3 separate regions of the Homo sapiens genome follow, and regions 2 and 3 are each linked to region 1. The links are contacts of gene promoters, found by promoter capture Hi-C in blood cells and fetal thymus (Javierre and others, 2016). All regions are on one chromosome and are shown on one strand. Each heading gives the region's core, a stretch centred on a gene start or on the middle of the fragment in contact. The rest is flanking DNA. Distances are from core to core; before and after follow the strand shown.

What was found. The method cuts DNA at HindIII sites, captures the fragments that hold promoters and counts their contacts. A CHiCAGO score of 5 or more calls a contact.
Region 2: a fragment that was not itself captured here is called in contact with the fragment with the promoter of PARL in region 1 in 1 of 17 cell types (fetal thymus); the score reaches 6.8 in fetal thymus.
Region 3: a contact is called between a fragment that was not itself captured here and the fragment with the promoter of PARL in region 1, in 3 of 17 cell types (naive B cells, total B cells and total CD8 T cells). The highest score is 7.6, in naive B cells.

Annotation. Positions count from the first base shown.
Region 1 is chr3:183,882,793-183,886,467 of GRCh38, reverse strand. It overlaps PARL (presenilin associated rhomboid like), which reads left to right and starts at 1,588. Exons shown (of 10, transcript NM_018622.7): 1 at 1,588-1,746. The coding sequence starts at 1,622. RefSeq lists enhancers at 1,139-1,368, 1,409-1,458 and silencers at 1,408-1,558, 1,669-1,828. The HindIII fragment of the contact is 9,960 bases long and covers 1-3,391 here.
Region 2 is chr3:183,120,814-183,124,488 of GRCh38, reverse strand. It overlaps LAMP3 (lysosomal associated membrane protein 3), which reads left to right. Exons shown (of 6, transcript NM_014398.4): 6 at 275-2,274. The coding sequence ends at 408. Among named protein-coding and RNA genes, the nearest start is that of MCCC1, 23 kb to the right of the region's middle. The HindIII fragment of the contact is 3,732 bases long and covers 176-3,675 here.
Region 3 is chr3:184,523,261-184,526,935 of GRCh38, reverse strand. All of the region lies in intron 6 of LINC01839 (long intergenic non-protein coding RNA 1839), which reads right to left. Among named protein-coding and RNA genes, the nearest start is that of LINC01840, 32 kb to the left of the region's middle. RefSeq lists enhancers at 333-1,135, 1,136-1,940. The HindIII fragment of the contact is 249 bases long and covers 1,676-1,924 here.

The sequences.
Region 1 (3,675 bases), core at 339-2,838:
TGCGCTGGGAGACATCACAAATGCTATTCTTTCTGAGGAACACTTCAATCCTCTTCTCTTGGTGACCTCTATCAGTTTCTCTGGGAAGCCTTCTCCCTGAGCCTCCCATGCCCCTTCCTTCAATTGGGCTATATCCCCCCTCTCTAGACTCCTACAGAGCCTTCTCCCCCAATACAATAGAATCTTTGTGAGGTCAGATATAGTGTCTTCTCAATTGTATCCCCAGGTTTAACATATCACCTGACACACTGTAGGTGCTTAATAAGAGCTTATGGAATGAATGAAGTGCTATTGCAGAGATAAGCATAAAGCGGTATGTGAGTACAAAGGAAGGGAATCTAAATTGGAGTGGAGGTCTGGGAAAGGCCTCCTGGAAGAGGTGACACTTGAGGCTGACCTGAAGGACAAGTCGGTTAGATGTTTCAAGTGGTGAGAACGGTAGCATGAATGCTCAGCAGTGGGAACGCGGATGGTGCCTTTGAGTAATGGCCAATGACTGTATGGCTGCAGCTAGGGTCGGGGGGAATGGAATGGCAGGGAATCAAGCTAACTGACAGGTAGTTGAGGGATGGATTATGAAAAAGTGAAAGCCCGCTTTTCATTTCAGGCTTGGATTTTGTGTTTATTTACTTATTTATTTATGAGAAAGGGTCTCACTCTGTTGCCCAGGCTGGCACGATATCGGCTCACTGCAACCTCCCGAGTTCAAGTGATTCTCCCACCTCAGCCTCTCGAGTAGCTGGGATTACAGGTTTGCGCCACCACGCCCAGCTAATTTTTGTATTTGTATTTGTAATTTTTTTGAGACGGATCTCGCTCTGTCACCTAGGCTGGAGTGCAGTGGTCCAATCTCGGCTCACTGCAACCTCCGCCTCCCAGGTTCAAGCAATACTCCTGCCTCAGCCAACTGAGTAGCTGGGATTACAGGCCCCTGCCACCATGCCCGGCTAATTTTTGTATTTTTAGTAGAGACGGGGTTTCACCATGTTGGCCGGGCTGGTATCGAACTCCTGACCTCAGGTGATCCGCCGGCCTCGGCCTCCCAAAGTGCTGGGATTAAAGGGGTGAGCCACCCCGCCCGATAGGCTTGGACTTTGTTAAAGGCATACAGAATAACACGAAGTGGTGAGATGCAGAAAAAAGTAGTAATTTAAGAAAACTTGGCTTGCCACGTTGGTTCCTCTAGGGACCAGCCCTGCAACTCCGGGCAAGTCCTATCCCCTCTGACCAGAGGCAAAGTGAAACAGTGATGACATCTACCTCTAGCAGTGCTGTGACGATTAAATGCGATCTTAGGCAAAGCGCCTGGTATGTGCCGTTACTCGAAAAAATGACAGTTGTCCCTCTTCGCTCTGGCCCCATCCTCCTCATCTGCAAATGCCGGGAGGCCGGGCCACTCTCGCAGGTCGCTCCCGGAGCCAGCTGAGCAGTGGGAGGGGAAGCGGTGGGACAGAAGGGCGCCAGCCAGTCGTCCGGGCACCGTGGCTGGTTCGGCTGCCGCTCAGCCGCGCGGGGGCGCTCTAGACTGCTCCTCGTGCTCTATGGTGTTGCCTTCGCCCCGGAAGTAGTTGCGCAGCTGGGGTTGGTAAGGTCGGGCCATGGTGGGGCAGAGGTTGGGAAGATGGCGTGGCGAGGCTGGGCGCAGAGAGGCTGGGGCTGCGGCCAGGCGTGGGGTGCGTCGGTGGGCGGCCGCAGCTGCGAGGAGCTCACTGCGGTCCTAACCCCGCCGCAGCTCCTCGGACGCAGGTAATAGCCGCCGCGCTCTGGTCTTCTCGCCTCTTGGTCCCTGAGCTCTGGCCGTGTATCCTCGGGGGCGGAGGCCGTCTGGGCCTCTTGTGCTGGCCCCAGCTCACCCCCTTCACCTTACCTGCCCCTTCTCTCTCCTCTCTCGCCTCCGTCCAGTCCTCGCTTCTCGCTCCCCTTGCCCAGCCCAGCCCCCCGCGAGCCTGCGCTTTCTCCTTTCCCATTGGGAAGGACGTGACTGGAAGGGGAACTAAGCTGAGGGTTCATTGCGTGCCACACTTCATAATCGCGAGTGGAAACTGTTGAGCCAGTTTCTGAAGTGAAGAAGTTAGTACAGCTGGCAGAATGGCGGTTTTTATTCTTTTTCCATCTAATTATAAAGGTTGTGTTCCATTACAACCAGTCGCCTTCTTTAGCTTGTGATCTAAGGGAGGACGAAGTCTGATGGAAGGTATCACTTTGTGTCTGGCAAAGTCGTAGGAGAGGCTTTATTGTTGAATTGAGACAGTGGAAGATTTCGTTTCCGGTTGATTTGGAAAGAAAACTGCCGAACCTTCCGAGTAGAAGTGTGAAGCGTATGGTTGATCAGTATTGCTGATTTTTGCATCACAGTAATTCATTTCTAATTTGAGAGAGAAGAGAGAAATTCCTCACCTGTTTAAGAATCTGATGTGCATTTGGCTTTGAAAATTTTCCTCCTCTTTTGTTCAAAACTTCATTCCTTCCAATTTCTGACTTGGTTAGATGGGTGCCTCGAATCCACCTGATTGCTGATAAGAAACATTGTTTATCAACACGTGGGATAGTCAGTGGTAAATAATCGAGGCTCTAATGTGGCGGAGCCATTGCCTAATCTCAAGGATCACCTGAAGAGTTTGTATGGATTTTATGTCCCAGGCCTCACCCCAGTCCTCCCAAATCACAATCAGGAGAGGGGTGGGTGGAGTGGAAGAACCTATATGTCCGACAAGCATTCCAGGTGAATTTTATCAGGGACTTGTGAAAACTTTACATACATTGTATCTTCATACACTAACATAGATCTGTCAGGCACTAATCTTAAACTCCTGGGGAGGTGGAAAATGAGGACAGATGGAGGTGGTAATCCCATTTGAGATTGCATGGTTTAAGGGGGAAAGAAAAGATTAATACTGGCCGGGCGTGGTGGCTCACACGCCTGTAATCCTAGCACTTTGGGAGGCTGAGGCAGGTGGATCACCTGAAGTTAGGAGTTCAAGACCAGCCTGGCCAACATTGCAAAACCCCGTCTCTACTAAAAATACAAGAAATTAGCGGGGCATGGTGGCGGGCGCCTGTAATCCCAGCTACTCGGGAGCCTGAGGCAGGAGAATGGCTTGAACCTGGGAGGCGGAGGTTGCAGTGAGCCGAGATCGTGCCATTGCACTTCATCTTGAGCAACAGAGTGAGACTCCATGTAAAATAAATAAATACTGTACGTGTATTAGGAAGCAACAGGAAGTGTGTTAAACATTTAAGATTTATGTACACATCACCGTATTGGTTTTAGGAAGGGGAAGCAAAAGAAAACTAATGAGCCTCTAGTAAAAATTGAGTATAAAGACCATTTGAAACAGTGAACCAGAAACACATGAAATGTTGAAGATTAGTATTTAATGTCTGAAAAGCTTGCCATTTGTATAGAAAGTTTGAAAATGACATTTTCGTGGTTGCATAAAAAATATACATGAGAATGTAGGCCTGAAATAGAGCATTTGCCTCTGGTAATAAGTTCTTAAAGTTAATAGTATCAGTTTACCTTATATATAACCTTTATTAGCTATATGTTGACTTCTTATGGCTTTGAAATTAGCGTGCAGAAGAATGACCCAATCCGTGTCATTTGATGTATTAATAATAGGCCTGAAGTGGGACCAGGAATTTGCATTTTACAAGCACTCTAGGTGGTGATAC
Region 2 (3,675 bases), core at 792-3,291, 760 kb after region 1:
AGTTCAGGAAATAAGGATTATGATTATTGAATGTTAATTACTAAGAAAATATGGTTATTTAATCTTCTGACAGTCTTACATATTATTTGCTTACTTTATAAATTAGGAAATTGCAAGGGTAAATTACCTGCCCAAGGTCACAAAGCTAGTTAATGGTGGAGTTAAAAGTCAAGCTTTGTTTGATGCCAAAGCTCATCTTCTTTCCCCTCTAGCCTGCTTTCTGGACTGCATCACCAAACCTTACCCACTGTATTGTATTTGTTTTCTCTCTTAGTGGATGAGTGCTCGTCTGACTACACAATTGTGCTTCCTGTGATTGGGGCCATCGTGGTTGGTCTCTGCCTTATGGGTATGGGTGTCTATAAAATCCGCCTAAGGTGTCAATCATCTGGATACCAGAGAATCTAATTGTTGCCCGGGGGGAATGAAAATAATGGAATTTAGAGAACTCTTTCATCCCTTCCAGGATGGATGTTGGGAAATTCCCTCAGAGTGTGGGTCCTTCAAACAATGTAAACCACCATCTTCTATTCAAATGAAGTGAGTCATGTGTGATTTAAGTTCAGGCAGCACATCAATTTCTAAATACTTTTTGTTTATTTTATGAAAGATATAGTGAGCTGTTTATTTTCTAGTTTCCTTTAGAATATTTTAGCCACTCAAAGTCAACATTTGAGATATGTTGAATTAACATAATATATGTAAAGTAGAATAAGCCTTCAAATTATAAACCAAGGGTCAATTGTAACTAATACTACTGTGTGTGCATTGAAGATTTTATTTTACCCTTGATCTTAACAAAGCCTTTGCTTTGTTATCAAATGGACTTTCAGTGCTTTTACTATCTGTGTTTTATGGTTTCATGTAACATACATATTCCTGGTGTAGCACTTAACTCCTTTTCCACTTTAAATTTGTTTTTGTTTTTTGAGACGGAGTTTCACTCTTGTCACCCAGGCTGGAGTACAGTGGCACGATCTCGGCTTATGGCAACCTCCGCCTCCCGGGTTCAAGTGATTCTCCTGCTTCAGCTTCCCGAGTAGCTGGGATTACAGGCACACACTACCACGCCTGGCTAATTTTTGTATTTTTATTATAGACGGGGTTTCACCATGTTGGCCAGACTGGTCTTGAACTCTTGACCTCAGGTGATCCACCCACCTCAGCCTCCCAAAGTGCTGGGATTACAGGCATGAGCCATTGCGCCCGGCCTTAAATGTTTTTTTTAATCATCAAAAAGAACAACATATCTCAGGTTGTCTAAGTGTTTTTATGTAAAACCAACAAAAAGAACAAATCAGCTTATATTTTTTATCTTGATGACTCCTGCTCCAGAATCGCTAGACTAAGAATTAGGTGGCTACAGATGGTAGAACTAAACAATAAGCAAGAGACAATAATAATGGCCCTTAATTATTAACAAAGTGCCAGAGTCTAGGCTAAGCACTTTATCTATATCTCATTTCATTCTCACAACTTATAGGTGAATGAGTAAACTGAGACTTAAGGGAACTGAATCACTTAAATGTCACCTGGCTAACTGATGGCAGAGCCAGAGCTTGAATTCATGTTGGTCTGACATCAAGGTCTTTGGTCTTCTCCCTACACCAAGTTACCTACAAGAACAATGACACCACACTCTGCCTGAAGGCTCACACCTCATACCAGCATACGCTCACCTTACAGGGAAATGGGTTTATCCAGGATCATGAGACATTAGGGTAGATGAAAGGAGAGCTTTGCAGATAACAAAATAGCCTATCCTTAATAAATCCTCCACTCTCTGGAAGGAGACTGAGGGGCTTTGTAAAACATTAGTCAGTTGCTCATTTTTATGGGATTGCTTAGCTGGGCTGTAAAGATGAAGGCATCAAATAAACTCAAAGTATTTTTAAATTTTTTTGATAATAGAGAAACTTCGCTAACCAACTGTTCTTTCTTGAGTGTATAGCCCCATCTTGTGGTAACTTGCTGCTTCTGCACTTCATATCCATATTTCCTATTGTTCACTTTATTCTGTAGAGCAGCCTGCCAAGAATTTTATTTCTGCTGTTTTTTTTGCTGCTAAAGAAAGGAACTAAGTCAGGATGTTAACAGAAAAGTCCACATAACCCTAGAATTCTTAGTCAAGGAATAATTCAAGTCAGCCTAGAGACCATGTTGACTTTCCTCATGTGTTTCCTTATGACTCAGTAAGTTGGCAAGGTCCTGACTTTAGTCTTAATAAAACATTGAATTGTAGTAAAGGTTTTTGTAATAAAAACTTACTTTGGAGATTTGTGCATGTCATTTATTTTTTATGATTCATTTTTGTGCTGTATAAATTTTGTTTACAATCATCTTAGGTTTTTGCTCCGATCAATAAGTTAAATCATCTTTCTATAATTTGTTTCATTCTATTCTCCATTGCCACATTATCACTTGGTAGGAATTCCTGAGAAGATAAACCACATTAAAGTTACATATGAAATGTCTCAACTCTTAGCTTAGACTGACTGCATTACTAGTTTGCTTAAATGTCGCCACGTTTGTTCATTCATTCATTTGATCAGCATTGATAAGGATTTGCTAAATGCCAGATACTCTTGTAGGAGCTGAGATAAATAAGAGGTCCTATATTAGTTACCCATAGTGATCTGAGAGAAAGAGAGAGAGGGCTGGGAGCGGTGGCTGACACCTGTAATCCCAGCACTTTGGGAGGCCGAGGCAGTCAGGTCACGAGGTCAGGAGTTTGAGACCAACCTGGCCAATATGGTGAAACTCCGTCTCTACTAAAAGTACAAACAAATTAGCTGGGCATGGTGGTGTGCACCTGTAGTCCCAGCTACTCGGGAGGCTGAGGCAGAAGAATCGCTTGATCCCGGGAGACAGAGGTTGCAGTGAGCCGAGATCATGCCACTGCACTCCAGCCTGGGCGACAGAGCGAGACTCCATCTCAAAAAAAAAGAGAGAGAGAGAGACTGACCAAGATGAAAGCCGTCATATTTTTATAACCTAATCACAGAAGAAACATACTATCGCATGTCTGTTTATGGTTCACACAAACCATCTCTGGTACACTGTGGAAGGGGACTACACAAGGGCTCGAATATCAGATTTTAGTCCATTCTGTGCCATTATCACAGAATACCACAGATTTTTTGATAACTTACAAGCAATAGAAGTTGATTTGGTCATGGTTCTGGAGCCTGGGAAGTCCAAGATGGAAGGGCCAAATCTGATGTGCATCTTCTTGCTGCCTTGTAACATGGTAAAAGGCATCACATGGTGCGAGGACACAGAAGAGAGAGCAAGAGGGGGCCCCACACTTGTAATAATAGCATTAATCCATCCACGAGGGCAGAGCCATCATGACCCCACTGCCTCTTAAAGGTCCCGCTTCTCAACACTGTTGCATTGTAGATTAAGTTTCCAACATATGGTTTGGGGGACACCTTCCAACCACAGCGCCGGGAGAGGGAGGAACCCCTGGAGGCAGCGTGGATGCTGCCTACCTCAGGTGCCTACTGTCAAGGTGAACATTGTGGAATTCGTGGTTTACTTTTTGGAGGGAACTTCAGTAAATAAATTCCAGTATATATACTAAGATAAGTGGATTAATAGGAACATATACAAGGGATGATGAGAGCAAGGCCCTTTCCAGCCTGCTTCCAACCCTGCCCCAGGTGTAGCACC
Region 3 (3,675 bases), core at 551-3,050, 640 kb before region 1:
GAGATCGCACCACTGCACTCCAGCCTGGCGACAGAGAGACTCCGTCTCAAAAACAAAAACAAAAAACAGCTTCTCTTGTATCTTTGGGTTGTCATTCTAAAGGCTCCCATGTCACATAAACTGTGATCAAATAAATTTGTATGCATTTTTTCCCGTTAATCTGCCTTTTGTCAGTGATTTTTAGTAAACCTTCAAAGGAGGCTTTCCCTTGACTCCTACACTCTCCTTGAAATAAGTAACTTCTACGGTTTTGCGAGAATCTTTTTTCTTACAATAGGAATGTATGTTTACTGAAGAAAATTCAGGAAATAGAGATAAGCAAAAAGTAGAAAATTTAGATCGACTAGAATCCCATCTCTTAGGGAAAAACATAGTTGGTGTTTTCTTGTTTTTTGCATCTTATTTCCTGCATATGTATATGTGTTTGTGTGTTTGTGTAAGAAACACATTTTTCAAAGAACCAAAATGGGCTCATCCCACACCTACTGGTTTTCCCTTTACCGTACAATCTAAAGCTAGCTCTACATCAATAGCAGGAGCCAGGGGGCTTGTGAGAAGAGCAGAATGTCAGGCCCGAACCGGAATCTGCATTTTCGTAAGCCCCCTAGAGGATTCCTGTGCCCCACACACTCTGGGGAGCATCGCCATTTTTAATGGCCACAGAGTCTCCCAAACAGGGCTAGACCGTGATTCACTCATTGCATCTCTCGGTGGTGAGGATTTTCCCTGTAACAAGAAGCTGGTCCCTCTGGGATCTCTGGGCTCTTCAGACCCTCCCCCTCAGTCCGTGCCCAGGAGACTCCAACAGCTGGGCAGGCGGCGTCCTTGCCCGTCCTCCACGGGCGAGATGCGCTGTCCACCTCCGCCCTCCTCTTGCTCCACCTGGCCAGAGGCCTGGGCTGCGCGCTCCCCGCGCTCCTGCGCAGGCTCTACTGGGAGCCCCTCCAGGGCGCAGTCCGGACCTGACGGGCAAGCCCTGACCTGCCTTTCATCCCGCTGATGCTCGCGCCCAGCTCCCTGTGAATACCCACTGATTGCCCCCGGAGTCTCCCCGTTAGGCCCTCCCGCACCTCTTACCCCTTCCTCCCCTTCCTGGCCTCCCCAGCTCCCTCACCCGCCTTCTAGAAGCATCCTCCCCCTTCTCACCCACCTCTCTACTCCTCCCTTCCCGACTTCCTCAATTCCCACCTCCCCCCCAAATTCCAGTCCTCTCCCTGGGAAAGAGAAAGCGGCCGGGGTCCCACCCTGGCTGTGTGTGGCCCGCGGTGGGGTGGGGCAGCCTGCCAGCCGCCAGGTAGCGCGAATGGAGCGCGGGGCGCCGCGCGCTGCGGGCGGGTGAAGCCGGAATCGGGGCGGCGGCTCGGCCCCCGGCCCCCGGCCCCGGGGAGCCCAGAGCGACTAGTCGGGCAGGAAAAGAATGACGGTGACGTGACCACTCTGACCCCGAGGACTCTCTGGGCTCTGGCGGGCGCTGGGCTCGGCGGATCTGAGTGCGTAGGAAGGGCGATGGGCGCTCAGTCCCCGAGGATCACCTGCGGGACCCTTTGGGGGCACCTGCCGGAGCAGCTGGCCCTGCGACGGGTCCCACCGCGCCCTCAGCAGCAAGGCGGTTCTCCCTTTATAGAGGTTTTACGTGCGTTTGTGGGGGGTGTTCTCAAAACAATACAAATAAGCTTCCATTGTCACCGATCAAAATAGTAAGGGCTTTTTAAAAGGAAACTGTTTAGGGCTGACAGAGCTACAGAGGAAGTGGAGTGATCCGGGCACAGTCAGGGACGGGGGAGGGGGGCGGAACTGGTCTAGCTGTTTTGGCAAAATGTAATAATACAGAGTTAGAGTCTTTGAATGCTCACACTGTTTGATATTGTGGTTCTAGTAGTGGTCATGCATCAGAAGAAATAATCCCAAATATTCCCCCAAAGCTTTTATGGACACAGACATTCTTTGCACTGAAAAATGAGAAAAAAAATTATCTAAAATTGGAATCAACTAGTTGGGCACTGATAAATACATTATGGTGTATCCACAGTTGTGATATCATTCTGTCATTGATAACATTTCTGAAAAGTTTTCGATAGTATAAGGAAATTTTCTCATTCTGTAAAAGGCACAAGGTGAGTTTGTATACACAAGATAATCACAAGTATATAAACTAAGCATAGTGGAAAGACTGGAAGAAATACATTTTAAATAGGAATGGGTGCTTTTTTTTTCTTTTGAAAAAACTTTTTTATGAACTATTTCAGATACATATCAAGGTATAGAGAAGAACTTACCCATCAATAATCATGGGGAATGGAGCAACCTCACTGCTGAAGCCCCTTAGGGACCCTCTTCACCACCTTCCTCACCCTCATCCCTGAGGTGACTTCTCACTATCTTTATTACATATGAGTGGATTCCTAAACATTATATAAGTATTTCAAACTTGACATATATGACAAAGTATTATGCACACTCCTTTGACTTGCTTTTTTAAGTCAACTTGGTGCTCTGGGGATTCATCCATGTCGACTCATGTTGATGAATCTGGCTCTGGTTCATTCAGTAAATATGACTTAATATTTCTCAAAAACGTAGAGCAGAGCCTGGCACATGGCACTACATATGTTTGTTGTTTTTTAAGAAATAAAAAATCATTTTCACTGCAGTATAGTAGACTTGTTAATATCATACTAAATGTATTGATCCATTCTCCTGCTGTGAAAATTTAGAATGTTTCCATTTTGTTCTTATTACAAACAGTGCCGCGATGAACATTCTGGTCTGTGTCTTCTTGTGCACATGTGAGTTTCTATGGAGTGCACCTAGCATTGGCCACAGACATTGCAAGGGATGCCTAACTTCAGTGCTACAAATTACTGCCCAGTCGTTCTCCAAAGCGATCTTGCCAGCAGCAGATGAGTCATTGTAGTAACACTCCCAGCCCTCAACACTGCCTCTCATCACGTCAGTTCTTTTCCAGTGTAATGGGTGTGGTTACTTCTCATGGTTTAAATTTGCATTTCCCTAATTACCATGGGGTTAGAGGTCAGGCATTTGTTCCTATGTTTATTGGTATTTTTTATACTGTAAAGTCTTGATCATAACTTTTTCCTATTTTTCTATTGGTTGTTGACATTTTCTTGTTGGTTTTTAAGAATTCTTTATAAATTTTGTATCTTAATCTTTCATCAGATGGATGAGTTGCAAATATTGTCATTCACTCCATGGCTTATCTTATAACTATTTGTGATGTCTTTCAAGACACAGAAAATTTACATCTGCACATATTCTAATTTACCTCTTTCTTTAAAGTTTGTACTTTGGTTGACATGGTTAAAGTACCTTTTCCTCTTCCAAGATATAAGTTTCCCTACACTTTCTTCTAAAAGTTTTTAAATTTTGTCGTTTTATATTTGGTCTTACATCTATCTGGATTTGATTCTTTGTAAAGGTGTGGTGGAGAGATCATCTTTCTCCTTGGATAATAATTGTCAAAGCATTTATTGGACAGCTCATCCTTTTCCAGTCATCTGCAATGCTGGCTTTGCCATAAATCAAATTTCCCAGTAAGTGGTGGTCTGTTTCTGGGTTCTCTATTTTGTTACATTGTTCTGTCCTCTAGCAATACTGCACTCTCACATACTATAACTTGATAATAAGTCTTGATTTCTGGATGAGCATGTATTCATA